Regions from separate parts of the Homo sapiens genome. Here regions 1 and 3 are each linked to region 2. The links are contacts of gene promoters, found by promoter capture Hi-C in blood cells and fetal thymus (Javierre and others, 2016). All regions are on one chromosome and are shown on one strand. Each heading gives the region's core, a stretch centred on a gene start or on the middle of the fragment in contact. The rest is flanking DNA. Distances are from core to core; before and after follow the strand shown.

Region 1 (4,212 bases), core at 869-3,368, 810 kb before region 2:
TTTATATTATACAACCCAGTGAGATTTTGTATATTCACAGAGTTGTGCCACCATCAAAAATTTTAAAACATTATTATCACCCCTAAAAGAAATCCGTACCCATTAGCCATCAGTTTCCAATACCCTCATCAACTCCCCACGCTGGGCAACCACTAATCTACTTTGCATCTATATACATTTGCCTAATCTGGCTTTTCGTCTAAACGGAATAATACATAATGTGGGCTTTTGTGACTGGCTTCTTTCACTTAAAATAATGTTTTCAGGGTTTTGCCATGTTGCAGCATGTGTCAGCTCTTCATACCTTTTGACAGCCCGATAATATTCCATTGCACGGATTATACATTTTGCTTATCCACTCGTCTATTGATGGACATCTGGATTGTTTCCAGTGTTTAACCATCATGAATAAAGATGCTATGCACATTGGTTTACAAATTTTAGGTGTGAACATAAATTTTTACTGGAGAAAGTTTTTTTTTTTTTCTTAAGTGAAAGCAAGTTTGTTAAGAAAGTAAAGGAATAAACAATGGCTACTCCATAGGCAGAGTAGCCCTGAGGGCTTCTGGTTGCCCGTTTTTATGGTTGTTTCCTGATTATAGGCTAAACAAGGAATGGATTATTCACAAGTCTTCCAGGAAAGAGGTGGACAATTCCCAGAACTGAGGGTTCCTCCCCATTTTAGATCATACAGGGTAACTTCCTGATGTTGCCATGGCATCTGTAATTTGTCATGGCGCTAGTGGGTGTGTAGCAGTGAGAACAACCTGAGACAGTTTTGACCCTTAAACAAAGTGGGTGATATGGCTGTCAGCAAGAGAAAGGCAGGTAGGCAGGACTTCTGGGAGGAACAGCCACCTGCTCAGGAAGAAACCCTTCCACCCCAGCTCTTCCACTACCTGTGCAACCACCAGCAAATCACGAGATATCTCAGATCCACGTCTGCAAAACGGACATAAATCTTAGCCACATTGACCTCACACTTCCTTTTTTTTTGTGTTTCATATGGGATAATTAGCATAAAGCTGTTTTCAAAGGAAAAATACTACACAAAGACCCAACAGGATAGTTGTTCTTATCACATCACTGTCATTTTGGCAATTCTTGAAATTGCCAGTACCTAGTGAGCTAATGACCTTCTCACTCAGAACCAGGGAAGGAGAATCACACTCAGGCCTTTCTCTCTGGTGCCTGAAAAGATTTTCAGTACAGTAGAGATGTGATCTCATTGTGACTCTCAGAAGCTGTGCTTAGGCTTTCAGTCAATAGGCAACCTCTTTGGGGATAAAAGAACCATCTTATTCACAATGGCTTGCTGTACAAAAAAAATTAGAATAAAAGAATTATTTAATTCGTTGATTTATTCACTACTTTTTAGCATTTATGATGTGCTCAGCAGTGAGTTGTGTGCTTATAGAGGGTGGTGGAATGAGCGGCGGTAATATAAGAAAGTACTTGAAATTTGATGCTGCTTTTAGGGGAAGCCAATGTGGCCACTTCTGCTTTCTTATTGACTATTGGAAATGTAGTACAGTACTAGTAATTGTACTCTGGAATGGGCCAGTGGAAGCCAATTCGGAAAAAGCGGTCCAAGGAAGACTATAATGCTTGGAAGGAGAAGGGGAAAATGACAGAGGAAAAGAAGAGAAAAGATGGAGAGAGAGAAAGAGAAGAGAGAAAAAAGAAATTATAACTTCTTCCACCTTTAAGGAAGTGATGAGCCCACATATAGCCCAGGTGATTTTGAGCTAAATATAAAGCTTGTGAATTCCCCCCAGTGCCCAATTTGGCCCCTAGAGGTGGAGACAAGTTCAGTGGCCACAAAACCAGAGACTCTAAGTTCATAGAAGGGAGGAGAGAATGGTAGATGTGTGGGAGCAGGGAATTTACCTGCTTCCTGTTTCGGCCCCTTTTGCTAAAGTGAAATGCTGTGGTTTTGCTGGTTATACTTGTTAATACAATTCCCTCCCCTTGCAGGATATGTGTGTGGTAACGGCACCATCTGGGTTAGCGAAATAGATACTCCGAGGTATAACACACTAAACACAGCAGGATGTTTATAAAATTCTTAATCTGGGCCCTTTGGACCACCAAGAATAGACATAGAGATTATACAAGCAAATTACTAAATCAGGCTGAAACCAGACATATAAGCATTTTCATAAATACTTAAAAATTTACCTATACCACGAGAGGCCAACTCTCAGACCATTCTCTGAGAAATACTAGACCACCCTGAGATGCTGGTACCTTAAGCACACATTGTCTCTTCTTGTTATGTGGTCATCACCACCAGGATATCCGCCCCTCTCCTGCCCTGAACATCTAGAGCAATTTGGCTGGGCACAGTGTTCTTTCCAGAACATTTGATTGCTATACTTACATAAGGAGAAAACTCTATTTTCATTTGAAGACTTCAGACCTCCTTCACAAAGTGATACTGCAGTGAGGAAAAAATGCAAACTGAGGAGCCACGAAAGCTTGCAGCTGAAACAGTGGGGTCTTAGACAAATGATTTTGCCTCCTCATCTGTACCACAATAATAAGAAAGTTCATCCGACAGAAGTATTTGAAAAAAGCATCTGCTTTCATGTCTGGCACATAGTAGGCATTCCAAGAAGGCTAGTAGCTCTTACCCACGCCCCTTTTGAGGTGATTTTCGCTTACAACCAAGCCAGAAGGAAGTCATAAAGCTCACGGGCCTTACATAGAGAGGAAGCATCAGAGAGTTCTCACTCACAGCCCTCACTGCTCAGTGCAGGAGCCGCCCCAGTTGACAGGACTCACTTCCTCTGTCTACACTCCCAAACCTTCTGTGCCCAGCAGTGTGTGCACATCTGTCTACACTGAGCTCTAACCAGAGTGCCTGGTTGGGGTCATGACCTGGCTCATTCAGCAGCATGAGCTGGAAAGGACTTTGGCTAATAGGACACCTGGTATCCAATAAATTCCCCACCCTGTATTTGTGACTGCTAAAAAGCCGAGTACAGATGATAGGCAATTCATTTTGATGGTAAAGAGTGGCCCGTTCAGGGGAGAAAAAGGGAGTCCCCTAAAGAGACCCTGGGTGCTCAATGCCAGGAGCAGAGTGAGCTTGTGTACGGGATGTGTGCTAAGGATGTGTATAGCATGGTGAGTTACATTTTTAAAAAATCACAAAAAATGTACAGGTCTAGGGCTGAAAGTTCTTAGAGCTGCCTCACAAGAGTTGAGGTCCTTTCCCATTGTTTGCAATCTCAGATTGGTTCTTCTTCCCAGGGGCACATGGCACATAGCACTTTGGTGATGGGGACTGCTTTGCTGATGTCAGGGTCAAGGGGTGCATGGACCATGGGCAGAGTGCTGGGCTCAGCCAAATGGTTCTGGGTAGGTCTTGCCTCTTGTAGCTTCAGTTTTCTCTTTTGTCTGGTGAAGTTATTACGAAAACTCATCTCTAGCCTTGGCTTATGGGATAATATTCTTGATAGGACTTTGAAAATTTGAGATTTTGATAGAAGTGTAAGGGAGCAATTTTTTAGATTGGTTCTATGTGCCAAGGGGGAGAGGGCAAACAAAGGCACATTGGGGTGCTGGTTATGAGTTTGCTTGCACACTCGCAGTGTTCTCTTCCCTGGTCTGGGGCATTGTGTCTGTTCACACAGTTGAAAACCAATGGTGGCCGTGGGCAGCCCTGGACCTCCTAAGGACACAAGGCGAAACCAACCACCTAGCCACAAAACAGACGCAACCAGAGCCTAGCTAGCTCTCCAGCCTCTGGGCTCTCCCTGCATGGACGGCCACTCTACCTACCTCTAAGACCTATCTGGGCTTGGAAAAGGAAGCTCCTGAGCAGCCTCAGCCCTGATGGTGAACTCAGCATCAAGCCACAGCTTCTATCAGTCAGCCTGGAGAAAGCAGGCCCAGAGATGCACATTAGGATCCTGCCTGGCTCACAAATTCCTCTGCAGTGAAGTGACAGGAGTCAAGCTAGTATTGCAGCCTGAGTCATGTCACCTCCCTTGCAGGTTTCCTTAAGGTCATGAGTCTCCTGTGCATGGATTCATAATCCATGATCCAGTTTGAGTAAGTTGGCCCATGGTTTAGGCTTTGGTCCCCAAGCTTCTGTTTTGATATCTGTCTGCTATTCCCTGTCCTTCCCCTGCAACAATCCCATCCTCAAATCCAGTTTTCCTGCATTTCCAAATAGCACCTTCTCCGCTATGGTAGACAGCT
Region 2 (4,189 bases), core at 1,196-3,695:
TGTCAAGGGGAGAAAAGGCTGGGCAAAAAAACACATATTTAAGGGCAGTAAGTAAAATGCTGGTTCAAATGTAATCCCAGGACTATACCACTCAATATGCCAGCATACAGATAATAGCTTCTTTTATTTATACTTATATTAAATATATTCTTATAGGGAATTTATCCCATAGAAAAACATACTTGCATTTATATTAGATAAAAATGGGGGAAATTTTATCCCATAGAAAATCATGCTTGCATTTACATTAGATAAAAATGGGGGAAAATGCTCTTTTATCTAGGCCGGGTGCAGTGGCTCATGCCTGTAATCCCACCACTTTGGGAGGCTGAGGTGGGCAGGTCACTTGAGGTCAAGAGTTCAAGAACAGCCTGCCCAACATGGTGAAACCCTGTCTCTATTAAAAATACAAAAACTAGCCAGGCGTGGTGGCTGGTACCTGTAATCTCAGTTACTCGGGAGGCTGAGTAGAATCACTTGAACCTGGGAGACAGAGGTTGCAGTGAGCCAAGATCTAGCCACTGCACTCCAGCGTGGGCAACAGAGCAAGACTCTGTCTCAAAAAAAAAAAAAATCTATTACACGATCAATTCTATTCGAAATAATTTCAATGCAATTCAACAGCAACTTCTTGAACACTTCCTAGGCATGTTTTCCTCAATGGCAGAGACCATATCTTCACCTATGACTCCCCAATATTTAATCAATGCCAGAGATAAAAGTGCTCAGTAAGTATTACTGGAAAAAATGTGTATCTAGCATAATACAGACTATCTATTATTAATCCAAGGGCAAAGAATTCTAAAAGAAAAAAGATTTCTTTTGGCTTTTAGCCAAAAAACCCTCCACATATTCCTCTTGAAAATTAAACCAGTCTGGTTATTCATTTTGTATCCCTATTGAATCTTACCACCTCCTTAAAGTTAAAATGGCTCAATGTTATTATTTTACTTACCCACAGTTTCTACGTATGTTTGAAGCCAAGGAAAATGCATTCCTGCACCACTGAGCACAGATGTTTCCACTTCTTCATCATCTGTCACAGGCCCTTTTAATTCTTCACTGAAATCACTCATACCTATTACAAGATGAGATATCAGTTACTTTCTGTACATCTTAATCCACAGTCTTCTGAGTTGTACAGAAAAACGGCTATCTTTTTATCTAATAAATATAATTTGATTAGCAAAATGCATTATACCTGTCAGCTCTTTTAAAGTAAAAAATGAATTTAACTATGTCAGCAACAGCCAAAATGAATGATCCATTAAAGACCGAACCACTAATGTTTCAAGTCCATGTAAAGATAAATAAGATACTGCCCCTCTAATTTAAAAAATCTCAAGTCTAGACGAAGAAACAGCAAAACGTATAATAACAAAACAATATGAAAAGTACAGTAAGAATAGAAGTAGCAGCTAATATTTATTAGGCCCTTACTATGCACTAGAAGTATAAATTATCTAATTTAATCCCCACAGCAATCCTGAGGTGGGTACTATTACTTTCTTCCATGTGAAGGTTGAAAAAACTGAGGGGCTTAGTGAAATGATGGAACCTGCCTAACATCACAAAAAATGGTGAGGACGATAGTCTAGGAAATAGAACACCAAACTACTTGGCATGACTAGAATTCGAGGTGCGTGTGGAGGAGGGGTGCGGAAGGTGAGAAACGAACCTAGAAAAATCATCATAAGCCAAGGTGAGTTTAGACTTACTCCTAAAGATGCTCAGGGCCCCTTCCTCATTACCCATATGAAATCGAGTATTAGTGCCCCTGATACTACCTCCAAATTTCCCCTATTTCCCCTCTTCAATCCTACAGCACTACTCTAGTTCAAGACCCCTTCAAACAGTGCCTAGATTACCGCATCAGCTTTCTAAACAATTACCCTGGCTCAGATTTTGCATCTCTGCATTATACCCAGAGTAAACCTTCTAAATTCAAAGCATGTGGCTAGGAGTATGAATTATAAGTAACAACTGAATTTGAATCCGACCCATCACGTGTTTTCAGGAGTAGTTACACAAATCCTCCCTTTCCAAATCCTCAAAAACCCAAATTGGTGACCCGCAGTTGCCACGGCAACCAAAGCTTCTCTATCCCCTTCTTTCGTTTTCAGACCCCAAGGGTTTCAGGTATTAGGAGGAAATATCAGGAGAACATGGATGAATCCTGACACACCCCTTCCCGTTCCATTTAAACGCAGGAACCACGGGCGATATCTGCGGCACTTACCCGCCTAAATTTAGAGCTCCTCAGTAAAGCTAAACTCAGTCTCCGACTCCGGCCCACGTGAAGAAATTCCCACCGGAAGACGAGTTAGGAGAGCTTTATATGAGCAGGCGCTAAACCTGGTTTAGGTATTTAGGCAGCGCGCGGCCCGGCTCGTAACTCCTCCTGCTGCAGCAGGCGTATCGTTGGCCTCGCCTCGACCCCGGAAGTGACTTCTGGAAGTGACCCAGGAAGTGACAGTGAGCTGCCTCTCTGCGATTGGTTTTGCCCGAGTTTTATTTTTGTCTGTCTCAGCTAGAAAGTGGGAGACTTTCATTTAAAATGGAAATTGGGGCGAGGGGTTGGCGGCTGGGCGAAGGGAGCATTCAAAAGCGGAGAATGTCACTTTACCCGAGAAATTCACTACGATGGGCCATTGGTTTCTGCTCGGCTCGCAGGCGCACTGCACGAGTGGAGGTGTGGCTAGTGGCTGTGATGAGATAAATCCATGCATAGCCTTTTCATTGCGAGCTTGAAAGTTCTTTTCTATTACAGTTTTAGCTTTAGGTTTAATTGGTTCGACTGCCTTCTCCACAATTTGGGCGAGAATTTCCTTTGCCTTCTCAGCAAAAGTTGTTCTGCGGACCCGTCTGGGTCAACTTTCATGAGGGACATTGAGACAAACAAATGAAATATGGGTTAAAGGTAAGATGGTTAAACCGTGTGAAATGAGAGACAGTTGAGGGGTTCTAGGGAAGATGATCCCGGAAAAGGACTGCAGGCCCATGGAAACGCAGTGTGCTTCTCCAATATTTGGAGGGCTGATCAGTGAAAGAAGGATCAGACCCTTTTTCTTAGCAGCAGAGAACAGAACTAGGACTAATAAGTGAAAGGTAAAGGGAGGCTGCTTTCAAGTCACAGCAAGAAAGAATTTTGTCCACAAATGAGGATGCACAAATATAGCATAGGCTCCCCCAGGAATCACTGAGTTTCCTCTGTGTAGGTGAACAGTTTGAGTAGAATCGGAGTATCGGAGAGGAAATTAAAGGGTCTGGTAAGAGTTTGAGGCCGGGCGCGGTGGCTCATGCCTGTAATCCCAGCCCTTTGGGAGGCCGAGGCAGGCGGAAAGTTTGAGCTCAGGAGTTCGAAACCAGCCTAGTCAACATGATGAAACCCCGTCCCTACAAAATAAAAATAAAAAAAAATAAGCTGGGGTGATGATGCATGCCTCTAGTCCCAGCTACTCGGGAGGATGAGGTGGGAGGATCACCTGAGCCCAGGGAGGTCGAGGCTGCAGTGAGCTGTGATCACCCTACTGCACTCCAGCCTGGGCGACAGAATGAGACCCTGTCAAAAAAAATTTTGTACATGGATTCCTTAAAATGCTACAAATAGTTGATTCTATGTTGTCTTCTGCATAAAACAATATGCAGTAGTTAAGGACTTGCAAGAAAAGTTCCTTCTGCTGCTCTCTCTGTCATTAGTTCTTGAGTCCTCACTCAAGCTTGTGCTCTAACTCTACAGGCAGGGCTAACATAAATTATGCGTAGTCCAGGAGACCACACACAAAATAACATACATAATCATTACTTTCTTGTCTAGAGGCTTAGTCTGGCTACTTTTCTCCCATTGGCTTGAGGTGTAAATTCACCAAAACCAGCCCAGAAATGATTTTACATGGAAAAAAGTTTATGTTCTCCCGAAAATGAGGAAGAGCTTTCAGATTTTCCTCGAAGTTCTCAAACAGCTCTAAGGAGCAGTAGGAAACGTGCCCTACCTATGCTTTTTCTTTCCCATGCTGCAATTCTGACAGAAAATGTGTTGGAGAGAAGAGATAAAAAAAATCAACTAGATCACATCCAATAGCATAAACAAGAAGGAAGGAGGGAAGGTTGCCGTGGCAGGCATCTGTAGTCCCAGCTACTCCAGAGGCTGAGGCAGGAAGATCGCTGAGCTCAAAAGTTCAATTCCATC
Region 3 (4,216 bases), core at 326-2,825, 560 kb after region 2:
TTAGTTTTTTGATGATAAATATTTGTTGATGCTTAAAATATATTTTGATGCATAATATTATACCCCATCCCATGCTAGGTGGTAGGGTATAATATTAATAGTCAATATTTATTGAGTGCTTACCATGTGTCCTGTTCTTTTCTAAATACTATACATGCATTAACTGATTCAACCCTCACCACAACCCTATGAATCAGTACTATTATCATCCCCCATTTTACCAATGGGGAAACTGCGGGAGAAGAGGTCATATAACTTCCACTTACTTAGATACCTAATAATTGATGGAGTCAGGATTTGAATCAGGTAATTGGGCTGCAAAATTCATGCTGTTAAGCACCATCCCTTACTGATATTGTGGTAATGAACAAGCTGGACAAGGTCCCTGGTCTCATGGAACTTACATTCTGGCACTGGAGATGTAGAGGAGAAGACAGAGTGGGGCAAGGTTTAGATTGTAGAATCAGAAAAACTGGATCCTTATAAGAGAAAGAGCAGTCAGGGCAAATTCACAAGACACTGGCTTTGTGATTGGTGGATAGTTGTGTCAGTCATGGAGTTAGGAAATACAAGCTAGGGGTGGTAGGGTGGCGGAAGGTGAACTTGGAGGGATGAGTTCATTTTGGGATAAACTGGTGTTGGACTGACTGTGGGATATGGAGGTGGAGCCATCGAGTGAGCAGTTGAAGTCATGTGTCCAGAGCATAGAAAAGATGTTTATATGGAGACAATGGGGGGATCAAAGATGGGGGGACAGTTGGAGACATAGGCGGAAAACAATAGCTAGAAGACAGGCTTAGTCCAAGAGTTCATAAAGGAAAAGATTGATAAATTCAACTGCCTTAAAATGAAGACCTTGTGTTCATCAAAAGACATATTTAAAAGAATAAAAAGATAGGAAACAAAACCAGAGAGATGCTTGCAACACATATAACTGCCACAGCCCAAGCATCCAGATTATCTTCAGAACTCATACAAATCAGTAAGAAAAGTCAGTAGAAAAATGGACAAAAGATACAGGCAGATACTTCATAAAAGAGGAAATATAAGATGACCAATAAATAAATGAAAAAGTACCAAACCTCATTAGAAATCTTAGAAATGCAAATTAAAGCTATAATACATCACATATTATATAAATCATATTGGCCAAAAATAAAATGTCTGACAATAAAAAGTGTTGGTGACGATATGGTGCAAACAGAATTCTCACTTGTTGCTAGTGGAAATGTGAATTGGTATAACCACTTGGTAGAAGTTTGGCACTGTCATGGAAACTTGAAGATTCACATGCCCTAAGACCTAGGAACTCCATGCCTAGGTGCATAACCTGATATGCTCATATGCCACAATATATATACGAAAATCTGTAAGGCAGCATTGTTTGTTATATCCTTTGTACTAGACAGCTTCTATGATGGCTCCCTAAGATTTCTGCCTCCTGATATTCATGCCTTTCTGTAATCTTCTCTCCTTAAGTGTGAACTGGACCCAGCAACTTCTTCTAACAAATAGAGCATGACAAAATTGATGGGATATCACTTCTGAGATTAGATTACAAAAGGATGTGACTTCTGCCTTGCTCACACTCTCTCTCTGGCCCTCTTGCGTGCTTGCTCTCATGAAGCTGGCTGTCATATTGTCAGCTGCCCTATGGAAGGACCCATATGGCAAGGACTCAAGGGAAGCCTCTTGCCAACAGCTGGTGAGGAACTGAAGCCATCAGTCTAACAGCCTGTGATAAAATGGTTCTTGCCAACAACCACTTAAGCGAATTCAGCATCGAATCATCCCCAGCTCAAGCCTTAAGATGAGACCATAGCCCCAGCTAACACCTTGATTACAGTCTTGTGAGAGACCAGAGCCAGAGGACCTAGCCAAGAGTCCATGCCTGGAGTCTCAATCTACAGAAACTGTCACATAATACATGGTGTTTTAATCCACTGTGTTTTGGCATGATTTGTCACACAGCAAGATAACTAATACAAATCACCAAACTAGAGATCCCTCAAATGGTCATCAAAAGTAGAATGGATAAGCTGGGCTGGGCTCAGTGTCCCATGCTTGAGCCCAGGAGCTCAAGATTGTAGTGTGCAATGATCACACCTAGAAATAGCCACTTCACTCCATCCTGGGCAACATAGTGAGAGCCAAAAATAAAAAATAAAAATAATAAATAAATAGGAGTCATTGAATGAATTTCAAGGTGGGAGTGGCCAATGGTGCCAACTGTTCTAGAGTCAAATACCAAAAGAAGTGAAGTTTCCCGACTGGATGCGACAAGTTGCAGGTTTGCAGACCTGATTCTGAGATGGCCCTCGAGATTCCCATCTTTGGCACCCCTCTCCATTTTTGTGGGTGGGATCTGTGACTATAATGGGATCACTGCTCCCTTGATTAGGTGCTGTTATATGAGACTCCATCTGAGCAGACTGTCTAGTAATTCACAGCTGGCCCCAAAGAAGCAAATGGCCTTGTTATGAACTACTTACCTCAGGTCCTAGCCGCATGGCCCCCTTCAAAGGCTAAGAGTGACTCTCACCAACCAGCAAAGACAAAATAGGATGTCATTTCTACAGCTACAAGGAACTGGTTTCTGCCCACAACCCCAAGCTCCAGAAGGAATTCAGCCCAGCAAACACCCGGATTTCAGTCTGTAAGACTCTGAGCAGAGACCCCAGCCACACTATGCCTGGATTCCTGACTCCTTGTAACTGTGAGATAATAAAAGGCTAATGTTTTATGTCAATAAATTTCTTGTATTTTGTTATGCAATAGAAGAAAATAAATATAGCAGGTCATCAATGACCTAAGGGCAGAGTAGGTGATAGAGATCATGTGAAGTCTTTAAAATAGGATTATGACATACTTTCCCTACCCAGTTGACCTCCTGCCTGGATTTAATAAAGCCTCCTTGACTTTGTTACCTGGCACATTTGGCTCAAATCAATCTCGACTTCCACCCTGTGCTGCCGTAGCACCTCATTCATGTCATTGGCTATACTTTTCACCTTGAATCTAAATTCGATCCTGTTCACTGCCCCTGCCAGGCTGTGAGCTCCAAGAAAGCAGAGCTCTTTCCAGAGTTTTCTTTACATCCCTGGCTCTGGGTATGACACATGATGAATGCTTAATAAGTGTGGAACAAAAGAGTGACCCAAAGAAGGGCGAAGACTCCTGGTTCTTCATCATGCCCATGGGAACCATGCTTTGGGGATGTAGGGAGTGGACATTCTCTGTGGCAGCTTCAGGCTTCTGGGGTTCTGTGGTGCCACTGATGTGTCATGTAATTTGAAAGCCCTGGAAGAAACTATGGGTGACTCTGGTTGTCCCCTCTCCAGGGCCAGTTGGCTGCATTCCACGGAAAAGGAACCCATAGAGAGGACAGCTAGGATGGCCTTGTCTACCGCTGGCCTCAGATCTGAGGAGTGAATGTTTCTAATAGCCTCTTGGCATGGTTATTTTGGAGCTCCTCAGGACTGTCAATTACTTGACAGCATGAAACAGTTGGAGGACTCAGGGATATGACAAAAGCAGTGTAATTCCTGTTTTATAACTGAATCTCAGAAGAATCCTTTGGCCAATACCCTAGGTCAGGAAAGAAATAGCTACTTGGCTTTGCTCACACTCCACTTAGGTGAATTGATGTCCATTTTGTTCAGGGCTAGATTTCAACCTTCTGTTGTTGTGGAAATATCCCCTGTTGGATGTCAATTGCTTCCTTCTTCTCTTCCTTCTGCTTTCCCTTTCTCCACCCTTTTTTCTCTCCTTTTTAAAAAATTTCCTTTCTCTTTTTGCCAAAGCAAAGCTTTTCATTTCCCAGAAACTGAGCTGGCTGCTTCTTCCTGGTGGAGATATATATATATATATATATATATATATATATATATATATTTTTTTTTTTTTTTAGATAGGGTCTCAAGCCATCCTCCCTCCTCACTCAGCTTCCCAAGTAGCTGGGACTGCAGGCAAGCACTACCACTCCCAGCTAATTTTTTTGATTTTTAGTAGAGACGAGGTCTCCCTATGTTGCCCAGGCTGGTCTTCAACTCCTGAATGCAAGCAATCTCCCCGCCTCAGCTTCCCCAAATACTGGGATTACAGGCTAGGTGTGAGCCACTGTTTGTCCTTCCTGGACATTCTTGTTTCCACTCTCCCTACCCCTCCTCCTCCATAGCCCCCGTCAAGGTAGAGTGCCTTCTACTTTGTTCATGAG

Evidence for each region. The method cuts DNA at HindIII sites, captures the fragments that hold promoters and counts their contacts. A CHiCAGO score of 5 or more calls a contact.
Region 1: a fragment that was not itself captured here is called in contact with the fragment with the promoter of TAF1A in region 2 in 1 of 17 cell types (total B cells); the score reaches 5.8 in total B cells.
Region 3: a contact is called between a fragment that was not itself captured here and the fragment with the promoter of TAF1A in region 2, in 1 of 17 cell types (neutrophils). The highest score is 5.2, in neutrophils.

Annotation. Positions count from the first base shown.
Region 1 is chr1:221,776,021-221,780,232 of GRCh38, forward strand. No RefSeq gene overlaps it. Among named protein-coding and RNA genes, the nearest start is that of DUSP10, 36 kb to the left of the region's middle. RefSeq lists enhancers at 1,550-1,639, 1,710-1,759, 1,790-1,839, 2,890-2,939. The HindIII fragment of the contact is 720 bases long and covers 1,759-2,478 here.
Region 2 is chr1:222,587,488-222,591,676 of GRCh38, forward strand. TAF1A (TATA-box binding protein associated factor, RNA polymerase I subunit A) reads right to left here and starts at 2,446. Exons shown (of 11, transcript NM_005681.4): 1 at 2,240-2,446; 2 at 956-1,078. The coding sequence starts at 1,076. It overlaps TAF1A-AS1 (TAF1A antisense RNA 1), which reads left to right and starts at 2,433. Exons shown (of 3, transcript NR_110613.1): 1 at 2,433-2,475; 2 at 2,771-2,920. RefSeq lists enhancers at 2,413-2,946, 2,947-3,479. The HindIII fragment of the contact is 1,624 bases long and covers 2,094-3,717 here.
Region 3 is chr1:223,146,409-223,150,624 of GRCh38, forward strand. LOC124904522 (a long non-coding RNA gene) reads left to right here. Exons shown (of 2, transcript XR_007066895.1): 2 at 1,480-2,749. Among named protein-coding and RNA genes, the nearest start is that of TLR5, 5.3 kb to the left of the region's middle. The HindIII fragment of the contact is 4,461 bases long and covers 1-3,806 here.